2 separate regions of the Homo sapiens genome follow, and region 1 is linked to region 2. Evidence: promoter capture Hi-C in 16 types of primary human blood cells and fetal thymus (Javierre and others, 2016). All regions are on one chromosome and are shown on one strand. Each heading gives the region's core, a stretch centred on a gene start or on the middle of the fragment in contact. The rest is flanking DNA. Distances are from core to core; before and after follow the strand shown. Region 1 overlaps ATF7-NPFF (ATF7-NPFF readthrough). Region 2 holds the start of SCAT2 (S-phase cancer associated transcript 2).

Region 1 (5,604 bases), core at 244-2,743, 640 kb after region 2:
CTGAGCCCAGCCCGTACGATTTCTTAAGTGACATTTTAAATAAAAGATCAGGCTCTTCATCAAGTTAGTTACCTGAGTGGTTTATGGTTCCTCATCTAGGTCTGAACATCTCAGATATAATCTAATAAATACAAACTACGGGGGGAATCACAACTTCTATTTTATTGCACTCTATGCCTCTGTTTTTAAAGCCTAAGATCACATTAGTTTGTGTAGTTGATTTTTTTTTTTTTTTTTTTTTTGAGACAGAGTCTTGCTCTGTCACCCAGGCTGGAATACAGTGGCTCGATCTTGTTTCACTGCAACCTCCGCCTCCCGGGTTCAAGCGATTCTCCTGCCTCAGCCACCAGAGTAGTTGGGATTACAGGCCTGCACCACCACACCCAACTAATTTTTTTTTTTTGTATTTTTAGAAGAGACGGGGTTTCACCATGTTGGCTAGGCTGGTCCCGAACTCCTGACTTTAAGTGATCCACCCACCTTGAACTCCCAAAGTGCTAGGATTACAGGCGTGAGCCACCGCGCCGGCCATGTAGTTGATTTTTTGACAACTTTACATTTATCCCTGTAATTATCATTTTGTTAATTTGGTTTGTTGTTTTAGCTTGATAATGTCATTTCACCTCTTGACCATTTCTCATATGTTTGTATTATTGATAAATTTGATAAACATGATACCTGTGTTTTTGTTTTAGGTCACTGGTAAACATGTATAAGGGTAGAACAATGCTATACAACATGAGTAGACTATCATTATGTTAACATTAACCTGTTAGTCAACTTTTGGATAAAATTCAGTTGTGAATCCCACCTGCCATTTTATATAATCTAACCTTTATTTTCTATGAAATAGCAAGAGGTATCTTGTTGAAATCCAAATGCAGTATATTCTGCCTCTGACATCTCTGAACTCCTAGGCTAGTGACCCTGTCAAAAAAGAAAATGAAGTTGCATATTAGTTGCTGTTTGGGTATCTTATGCTACTGTTTATAGATCACTGCATAACTTGCCAGTGGTTCATAAGTGATCTGTTTAATAATTCATTTAGAATCTTTCTGAGAAATAATATTTCACTAGTCTACGATTTCTGTACTCGACCTCCCTTGCCCCACATTTTAAAAAATTATAATTTTCCCATTTCCAAGACTTCTAGTCCTGTTTTTTTTTCATTTTCAAATAATTATAGAAAATTAACCATATTTCTTCATAGTTGCAGGGATTTTTTGTTGTTATTTTGTTACTGTCTTTTGGTTGTGGTTTTTTTCTTTTTCTTTTTTTTTTTGAGACGAAGTCTCGCTGTGTTCCCCAGGCTAGAGTGCAGTGGCAGGCTTACTGCAACCTCTGCCGCCCAGGTTCAAGCAATTCTCAGGCCTTAGCTTCCCAAGTAGCTGGGATTACAGGCATGTGCCACCACACCTGGCTAATTTTTGTATTTTTTTTTTTTTTTTTTTTTTTGAGACGGAGTCTCGCTCTGTCGCCCAGGCTGGAGTGCAGTGGCGGGATCTCGGCTCACTGCAAGCTCCGCCTCCCGGGTTCACGCCATTCTCCTGCCTCAGCCTCCCAAGTAGCTGGGACTACAGGCGCCCGCCACTACGCCCGGCTAATTTTTTGTATTTTTAGTAGAGACGGGGTTTCACCGTTTTAGCCAGGATGGTCTCGATCTCCTGACCTCGTGATCCGCCCGCCTCGGCCTCCCAAAGTGCTGGGATTACAGGCGTGAGCCACCGCGCCCGGCCTAATTTTTGTATTTTTTTAGTAGATATGGGTTTTCATCATGTTGGCCAGGCTGGTCTTGAACTCCTGACCTCAAGTGATCCACCTACCTCGGCCTCCCAAAGTGCTAGGATTACAGGCGTGAGCCACCGTGCTCGGCCATGGTTTTTTTTTGAGACAGGGTCTTACTCTGTTGCCCAGACTGGAGTACAGTGGCACAATCATGGCTCATACTGCAGCTTCAGTCTCCCAGGCTCAAGCCATCCTCCTACCTCAGCCTCCTGAGTAGCTGAGACTAAAGGCTCATGCCACCATGCCTGGCTAATTTTGTTTATTTTTTGTAGAGGTCTCATCATGTTTCCCAGGCTGGTCTCGAACTGCTGGGCTCAAACAGTCCTCCTGCCTTAGCCTCCCAAAGTGCTGAGATTACACGCATGAGCTACTGTGCCTGGCCAGATTTTTTGACATTAGATGAAATTCTGTTTCGGAAACTTTTTTTTTTTTCTGAGGCAGGGTCTCCCTCTGTCTCCCAGGCTGGAGTGCAATGGCGCCATCTTGGCTCACTGCAGTCTCTGCCTCCTGGGCTCAAGTGATTATCCTGCCTCCGCCTCCTGAGTAGCTAGGACTACAGATGTGCGCCACCGTGCCCATCTAATTTTTGTATTTTTTGTAGAGACAGAGTTTCCCATGTTGCCTAGGCTGGTCTTGAATTCCTAAGTTCAGGTGATCTGCCTGCTTTGGCCTCCCAAAGTGCTGGAATTACAGGCTGGGCCCCCATGCCCAGCTTGTTTTGGAAACTCTTCTTTTTTTTTTCTTTTTTTTTTTTTTTTTGACACGGAGTCTCGCTCTGTCTCCCAGGATGCAGTGCAGTGGTGTAATCTCAGCTCACTGCAACTTCTGCCTCCTGGGTTCAAGGAGTTCTCCCCCTCAGCCTCCCAAGTAGCTGGGACTGCAGGCACATGCCACCACGCCTGGCTAATTTTTGTATTTTTAGTAGAGACGTGGTTTCACCATGTTGCAGGCTGGTCTCAAACTCCTGGCCTCAGTTGATGCGCCCACCTGGGCCTCCCAAAGTGCTGGGCTTACAGTGTGAGCCACCTGCCCTTGGAAACTCTTTTAGGAAAAAAACTTTATTCCCTGGACATTTCAACTTAGAAATGAAAGAATTAAACTACTCTCTGAAAACAATTTTATGTAGTTTCCCTGTAATGTTGACATCTCCAATTTAGACCTAACTTTTCATTTTCTTCTTTTTTTTTTTTTTTGGAGACAGAGTCTTGCTATGTCAGCCAGGCTGGAGTGCAGTGGTGCAGTCTTGGCTCACTGCAACCTCTGCCTCCCAGGTTCAAGCAATTCTCATGCCTCAGCCTCCCAAGTAGCTGGGACTACAGGTGCCCACCACTGCGCCCGGCTAACTTTTTGTGTTTTAGTAGAGATGGGGTTTCACCATGTTGCTCAGGGTGGTCTCGAACGCCTGAGCTCAGGCAATCCACCTACCTCAGCGTCCCAAAGTGCTGGGATTACAGGCAAGAACCATCGCGTCCGACCCTAACTTTTCATTTTCTGTTTGGAATAAAAACCTATACCAACTATAAACACACACACACACACACAATTGCCATTTATAATTGTAGTTTATTGGCAAGGATGGTCTAAGTTTGCCAGGTCTAAGTGTTGTAGGTGAAGGGTGCTACAAATGAGATACAACTTCAGAAGACATCTCTAGGGACTAAAGACTTTACATTGGCAGGCAGCAACTTTTCCTGCTTGTTAATTTTAGACCTGACAGTTGAATTTATGTTTGAGCAATTTTAGCTGATAAATGCATTTTTTAAGTACCTTCCTCTTTTGGCATTTTAATTTTTACTTTCGTTTTTAAAAAATTGCAAATCGTGAATGAATGTGCATATTAAATTAGCATGCTACTAGGCAGGGAAACAATGCATTTTCTTTTGATACCTTCTCATCCATCTGATAGCATTAGTTATGAATTCTCCTGGAAAGCAGAAGGATGGACTCGATAACCCCTCAAGGTTCTTTTCAGGCCAGAACTTTCATAAATAGAAGTTAAGATCAAGGAACTTACTCTTGAAGAATCAGGAAGAAAAATAGACTGTAAAGAAAATAAAATTGAAATGTTTCTGTCGACCCAGTGGGAATGGATAAACACAAGTAAGGAACATAAATGACGAGAAATAATAACTCCTTTGAGCTAAAAACAAAACAAAAATCAACAACAACAAATATTTTGCATTGGAGTCATTTTATATCTTAAAAATATTTTATCATGACATTTTCTCTTCGACATTTCCCTTGTGGACACTTTGTGTTGAAAGAATGTTGGGTTTTGTTCCTGTTAAATCATAGTATTTTGTTTCCTTCCTTTCTCTTGTTTGTCCTTTTGTTTAAAAACTTTTTTTTTTTTTTTGGTCTTCTGTATAATGGACTGACTGCCTGTTTACAATGAGGCAAGATTCAATTCAATTTTGAAAGTATTTGCTATATCACTTCCTCGGAAATGAAGGATGAGTGTTACAATTCAGGAAAGGTTGTATGAAAAGATAAACTTGTATAAAAAGATAAGCTTTTAAAATTTTGTAGGCAAACATTTAACGAAGGTTCCCAACCAAAGCAAAGGTGAGTTAGTATAGTAGTCTTTTTTTTATTATTATTTAAAAAAATTTTTTTTGAGACATAGTCTTGCTCTGTCACCCAGGCTGGAGTGCAGTGGCACAATCTTGGCTCACTGCAGCCTCCGGCTTCTGATTACAAGCAATTCTTCTGCCTCAGCCTCCCGAGTAGCTGGGATTACAGTTGCCTGCCACTATGCTTGGCTAATTTTTGTATTTTTAGTAGAGACGGGGTTTCAACCATGTTGGCCAGGCTGCTCTCGCACCCGTGACCTCAAATGATCCACCCACCTTGACCTCCCCAAGTGCTGGGATTACAGGTGTGAGCCACTGTGCCTGGCCTAGTATAGTAGTTTTAAGAAGGACATAATACATAAGCATTGGTTGGGCACAGTAGTTCACACCTATAATCCTAGCACTTTGGGAGGCTTGGGCCCAGGAGTTCGAGACCAGCCTGGGCAACATGACAAAACCCTGTCTCTATAAAAAATACAAAAATTAGCTGAGTGTGGTGACATGCGTTTGTAGCGCCAGCTACTTGGGAGGCTGAAGCGGGAGGATTGCTTCAGCTCAGGAAGCAGAGTTTGCAGCCAGCCCAGGTTGCAGCACTGCACTCCAGCCTGGGCAACAAAGTGATACCCTGTCTCAAAGAAAGAAATAATACATAAGTTTACAGTAAAACTCATTACAAACCCTTGACTTCAGGTTGTTAGCTTTTTCTCACCTTTTTTTTTTTTTTTTTGGAGACAGAGTCGTTCTCTGTTGCCTAGGCTGGAGTACAGTGGCATGGTCTCGGCTCACTGCAATCTCCGCCTCCCAGGTTCAAGCAGTTCTCCTGCCTCAGCCTCCTGAGTAGCTGGGATTACAGGCACACGCTGCTACACCTGGCTAATTTTTTAGGTATCTTAGTAGAGATGGGGTTTCACTGTGTTGCCCAGGCTGGTCTCGAACTCCTGAGCTCAGGCAATCCACCCGCCTCAGCCTTCCAAAGTGCTGGGATTACAGGAATGAGCCACCGCACCCGGCCACGCCTTTTCTCATCTTTTGGCAATTTTAATCCTCAGTGTTCCCATACATTTGAAACCAGAATGTGCATAAAGTTTCTTTTTTTCTTTTCAATATTGTATCTCTTCTTAATAAATATCATGAAAGTCTATGAAAGTGTAGGTTGGGTGAGTTGGCCCACACATGTAATCCCAACACTTTGGGAGGCTGAGGTGGGCAGATTGCTTGAGCTTGGAGTTCGAGACCAGCCTGAGCA
Region 2 (5,133 bases), core at 1,792-4,291:
TATGTGGCTCGTTAATGATAGGGGTGTTAACGACCATAGTTAATCTTTCTCTTCAACTCTTTCCTAATCTAGTCTCTTAAACAGACATTTAAAAAGCTTTTAACTCCTCTTGAATTGTGTGCTCATGGGCTTTTGGTGGAGGTGGAGTGATAGTTATCAGCCCATTTAACAAAACCTGAGACAGCCAGGACAGCTGTAATGTGCATCTCTATGCTGTGTTTTTGTTAAAATGCCACATGGCTAATACTTTGGAAATCATAAATCCACTGCAAGAAAACATCTTTATAGGGGATATTTTAGTTTTATGCTGTTTGTGTTACACACCTAAAACCATCAGTACTTCAAGCTCCATAAAGAGCAAGGAACATAGAGCAGATTAAAATGTTTCTGTAAGTTTGGTTTATTTTCATCTGTTTTATTTGCTGCAATAAGGCTATATAGAGGATGCTTTGAAGACAGTGCTGTAGCTGACAATTTAATCTTCACCTAAGCCACTCTCTCCCTAAGGGCCTTAAGGAGAAGTGGGAATCGTGCAAGTCTGGGCCAACTGCAACCACTCATCAATGGCATATCTAATTAATCCATGTGATAGGGAGCTTTGCATATGCGCTCTCCTCTGCTCTTTAACCCTGGCTTACTTCCTAAAGGATTTTGCTTAGTTAGGGGGCTTATAGAATTTATGTTGAAACTCTACAATGGAGAGCTCATTGATTATGCATCTTGACATTTGGTTTGATTACCATCTTTAATTCAGTGGGTAGTTCAGTGAGGCAGCTTACCAATTGGCTTTCTTTTTCTTTTTTTTTTTCTTTGAGATGGAGTTTCACTCTTGTCTCCCAGGCTAGAGTGCAGTGGCGCAATCTTGGCTCACTGCAACCTCTACCTCCCAGATTCAAGCGATTCTCCTACCTCAGCCTCCCCAGTAGCTGGGATTACAGGCACCTGCCACCACACCTGGCTAATTTTTGTATTTTTAGTAGAGATGGGGTTTCGCCATGTTGGCCAGCCTGGTCTCAAACTCCCGACCTCAGGTGATCCACCCACCTTGGCCTCCCAAAGTGCTGGGATTACAGGCATGAGCCACTGCGCCCGGCTGGCTTTCATTCTTAATAAGAAGAAAGCTTAGTGAAAGATCTAGAATTATGTGTACTTTTGCTCATAAGTGGTGATGAAAATGAAATGACTATAACAAGATAAGAAAAGCCACCAGAATTGGTATTGAGAAGTAGTGACTGCTTTGTGGGGGTAAGGCAGGAGGATTGCTTCAGCCCAGAAGTTTGAGACCAGCTTGGGCAACACAGTGAGACTGCATCTCACCAAAAAATAAAAAAATGTAGCCAGGCATGGTGGCGTGCCCCTGTGGTCCCAGCTGCTCAGAAGGCCAAGGTGAGAGGATTGCTTGAGCCCAGGAGTTTGAGACTGCAATAAACTGTCCGCACCACTGCACTGCAGCCTGAACAACAGAACGAGGCCCTGTCTCAAAAAAGAAATGACTGGAGGGATGAGAGTAGAACCTGAACTGGACAAAGCAGACAGATACCAGGGACCCTATGTGGGTTCTTCCAGCATTAAACGGTCAATGCTGAGGGCTAACCATTACCTCTTTTTTATTTGAGACGGAGTCTCACGCTGTCTCCCAGGCTGGAGTGCAGTGGTGCGATCTCGGCTCACTGCAAGCCCCGCCTCCTGGGTTCACACCATTCTTTTGCCTCAGCCTCCCCAGTAGCTGGGACTACAGGCTCCCGCCACCACATCTGGCTAATTTTTTGTATTTTTAGTAGAGACAGGGTTTCACCATGTTAGCCAGGATGGTCTCAATCTCCTGACCTCGTGAGCCACTGCGCCTGGCCTTTTTTTTTCTTTTTTCTTTTCTTTTTTTTTTTTTTTTTTTTTGAGATAGAGTCTTACCCTGTTGCCCAGGCTGGAGTGCAGTGGCGCGATCTCAGCTCACTGCAACCTCCGCCTCCCGTTTAAGCGATTCTCCTGCCTCACCCTCCTGAGTAGCTGGGATTACAGGTGCGTAACTGCCTCAGCCTCCCGAGTAGCTGGGATTACACCACGCCTGACTAATTTTTTTGTGTCTTTAGTAGAGACGGGGTTTCACCATGTTGGCCAGGCTGGTCTCAAACTCCTGACCTCATGATCCACCTGCCTTGGCTTCCCAAAGTGCTGGGATTACAGGCGAGAGCCGCTGTGCCGGCCTACCTCTTGTTTTTCTGGGTTGCCCTAGCTTGCTTGTGATGCCCTCTCTGTAATTGCTGAGGACTGATAAGTTTTTTGTTTGGTTTTTTTTTGAGACGGAGTTTTGCCCTTGTTGTCCAGGCTGGAGTGCAATGGCTTGATCTCGGCTCACTGCAACCTCCATCTTCTGGGTTCAAGTGATTCTCCTGCCTCAGCCTCCCAAGTAGCTGAGATAACAGGTGCCTGCCACCACACCTGGCTAATTTTTGTATTTTTAGTAGAGACAGGGTTTCACCATGTTGGCCAGGTTGGTCTGGAACTCCTGACCTCAGGAGATCTGCCCGCCTCGGCCTACCAAAGTGCTGGGATTACAGGCGTGAGCCACCGCGCCCAGCCTCTTTTCTCATCTCAATGGGCCTTAGGTGCTGTAATCTATAGTTATTGGTAGCTTTACCAGATAGTTCCTATGTATATTTAAGAGAGAAGGCTGAGAGCTGTTATGCCTGAAAGACTCCAGAAATTTGAGAAGCTACTCACCCTTTCCCTTGGAGATTTCCACAAGGATAAGGTTGTGTTCAGAGGCTCATCTTCTTTTCCTCTGTCATGGTATTGGGATTCTATCTTAATCACTCCATCATCCTGCCAGCCATGTCTCATTTCTCATGCTGGAAAGCTCCCTCCTCCTAAGCTCAGTGTGAACCACCAGTCTTGATGCTTTATCTGGTCTAGGCTCTAGCCCTTAAATTGTTTGACTGGCTTTGTGTTTCATTTGACCCTAATACTCCGGGTCACACTGTCTAAAAGAGAATTATGTCCCCTCCGATGTCTGAGTGCATTTCTCATTTCTTACTGCTGCTCCTGAGCAGATCTGTAACTTCAAGGTTAAGATAAGACACATTCCATCAGAACTATGTCGTCATCCTTGCCAGCTTCTGATCTGTGACTGTCTAGGAGATTTACAAGACAATTGCATGCCATCCTTTAAAGAATATTATGGTTGTACTCTGACTCCTGGCATCAGGCCCAATTCGATTTGTCAGTGGTTACAAAACCCATTTCCCAAAAAGAAAAGGACCTCGGCCCATGTGCCCTTTAGGCAGTTCTTAAGGGTGGAAAGGAGGGAATTGAACTCAATCTTTATTTTCTGATGTTTTGTGGGGAGGGGTGGACACCAGAATATTTTTGTCTCTTTCCTCATTAAATTCACTTTTCTTTCTCTGAAAGGTTTCACCAAAATGTTAGTATTGCTGTCATTCTCTCCTGTTCCTTATTCCTTCACAGAGTTACTATTAGTCTTTTCATTCTGCCATCTTTAAAGTTTGTCTGAGTTTTAAGGAATAAGTATTTTGCCCTTGAGAGAGAACGTACCTACCCTGTTCTCTGAAGGTTTATTCGTTTTCCAGTGCCTAGTTAACAAAGACACTGTTCCTCTTTTTCTTGCTATCTACTAATGTGTTGAGCTGCAGGAGTTACTGCATGTGATATGGTTTACTAGCTTAGGAATTTGGAAGGTCACATATTTTCTTCTGCTGTTGTATTCAGCCCTGACATATTTTTACAGAAGGTTCTTTTTGGGGGACTTAATAGATCTTTGGTTTCAACATAAACTCACTTTTTCCCTCGGAGGTACGTAGGGCAGGTAGTACAGATTTATTTAGCCCGTTTAAATGATGCCGGGGTTAGATGGAAAATTTATTTACTCAGGATAACACATGGCAAGTTAATCAGAGTCAGGATCCTATTTAAATGTTTGTTATTGTTTTTATATCCCTTAATTATGAAAAGTTAAAAGGTAAGAGTTGAAAAATGCCGTTTTTAATTGGAGGTTTGCTGATGGTCCATTCAAATCTGAGGAAATCTTTTGTAATTAAAAAATTTCTGGCCGGGTGCAGTGTCTCATGCCTGTAATCCCAGCACTTTGGGAGGCCCAGGTGGGCGGATCACAAGATGAGGAAATCGAGACCATCCTGGCCAACATGATGAAACCCCATCTCTGCTAAAAATACAAAAATTAGCTGGGCGTGGTGGCACATGCCTGTAATCCCAGCTACTTGGGAGGCTGAGGCAGGAGAATCCCTTGAACCAGGGAGTTGGAGGTTGCAGTAAGCCGAGATGGCGCCACAGCACTCTAGCCTGGTGACAGAGCGAGACTCCGTCTCAAAAAAAAAAAAGAAAAAAGAAAAAAATTTCTACTTTGGTCTTACACCCTATGGTTTCTTCTGTTTGACAGTCGTAATAGTCACCATTGTGCTTCTTCTCAACTGAGTTCTTTTTTTTTTTTTTTTGAGACGGTTTCGCTCTTGTTGCTCAGGCTGGAGTGCAGTGGCGCAGTCTCGGCTCACTGCAACCTCTGCCTCCCAGGTTCAAGCGATTCTCCTGCCTTAGCCTCCCAAGTAGCTGGGATTACAGGCAAGTGCTACTATGTCTGGCTAATTTTTGCATTTTTAGTAGAGATGGGGCGTCACCATGTTGGTCAGGCTGGTCTCGAACTCCTGACCTCAGGTAATCCACCTGCCTCGGCTTCCCAAAGTGCTGGGATTACAGGTGTGAGCCACTGTTCCTGGCTCAACTGAGTTCTTTGCTTTTGATTGTCCCTTTTTCTTACTCTCCTATGGCAGCCACTTCTGGCTTTAAAGTTCCCACATCTATAAAGCAGAGTAGAGTTTTGGAGCTCTCTAAAATGTTCTTTAGAGCCAGAAGAATGGAAAACTTACAGTATTTCAAGTCTCTATATATCTTTTTTATTTATCCTAGTACTCCTTTTCTCAAGTATTGAGACATACTGATACAGAGAGTTGTATATTAATAATGTATCAGGTGATGAATAATTATTTAAAAATCTGTTTTATAACATTATAGAGCAACCTATAAGTGGTTTAAATTTATCAACCATTAGGTTGTGGCAGAACTGCTCTCCTCTTTTTTTTTTTTAAGCTTCTTAGGAATTTTTTT

What was found. The method cuts DNA at HindIII sites, captures the fragments that hold promoters and counts their contacts. A CHiCAGO score of 5 or more calls a contact.
Region 1: a contact is called between a fragment that was not itself captured here and the fragment with the promoter of SCAT2 in region 2, in 1 of 17 cell types (erythroblasts). The highest score is 5.2, in erythroblasts.

The regions. Positions count from the first base shown.
Region 1 is chr12:53,616,427-53,622,030 of GRCh38, reverse strand. All of the region lies in intron 1 of ATF7-NPFF (ATF7-NPFF readthrough), which reads left to right. All of the region lies in intron 1 of ATF7 (activating transcription factor 7), which reads left to right. Among named protein-coding and RNA genes, the nearest start is that of ATF7, 7.2 kb to the left of the region's middle. The HindIII fragment of the contact is 5,613 bases long and covers 1-4,299 here.
Region 2 is chr12:54,260,523-54,265,655 of GRCh38, reverse strand. SCAT2 (S-phase cancer associated transcript 2) reads right to left here and starts at 3,041. Exons shown (of 2, transcript NR_157844.1): 1 at 2,719-3,041. The region is part of intron 1 of CBX5 (chromobox 5); the gene reads left to right. The HindIII fragment of the contact is 3,994 bases long and covers 1,124-5,117 here.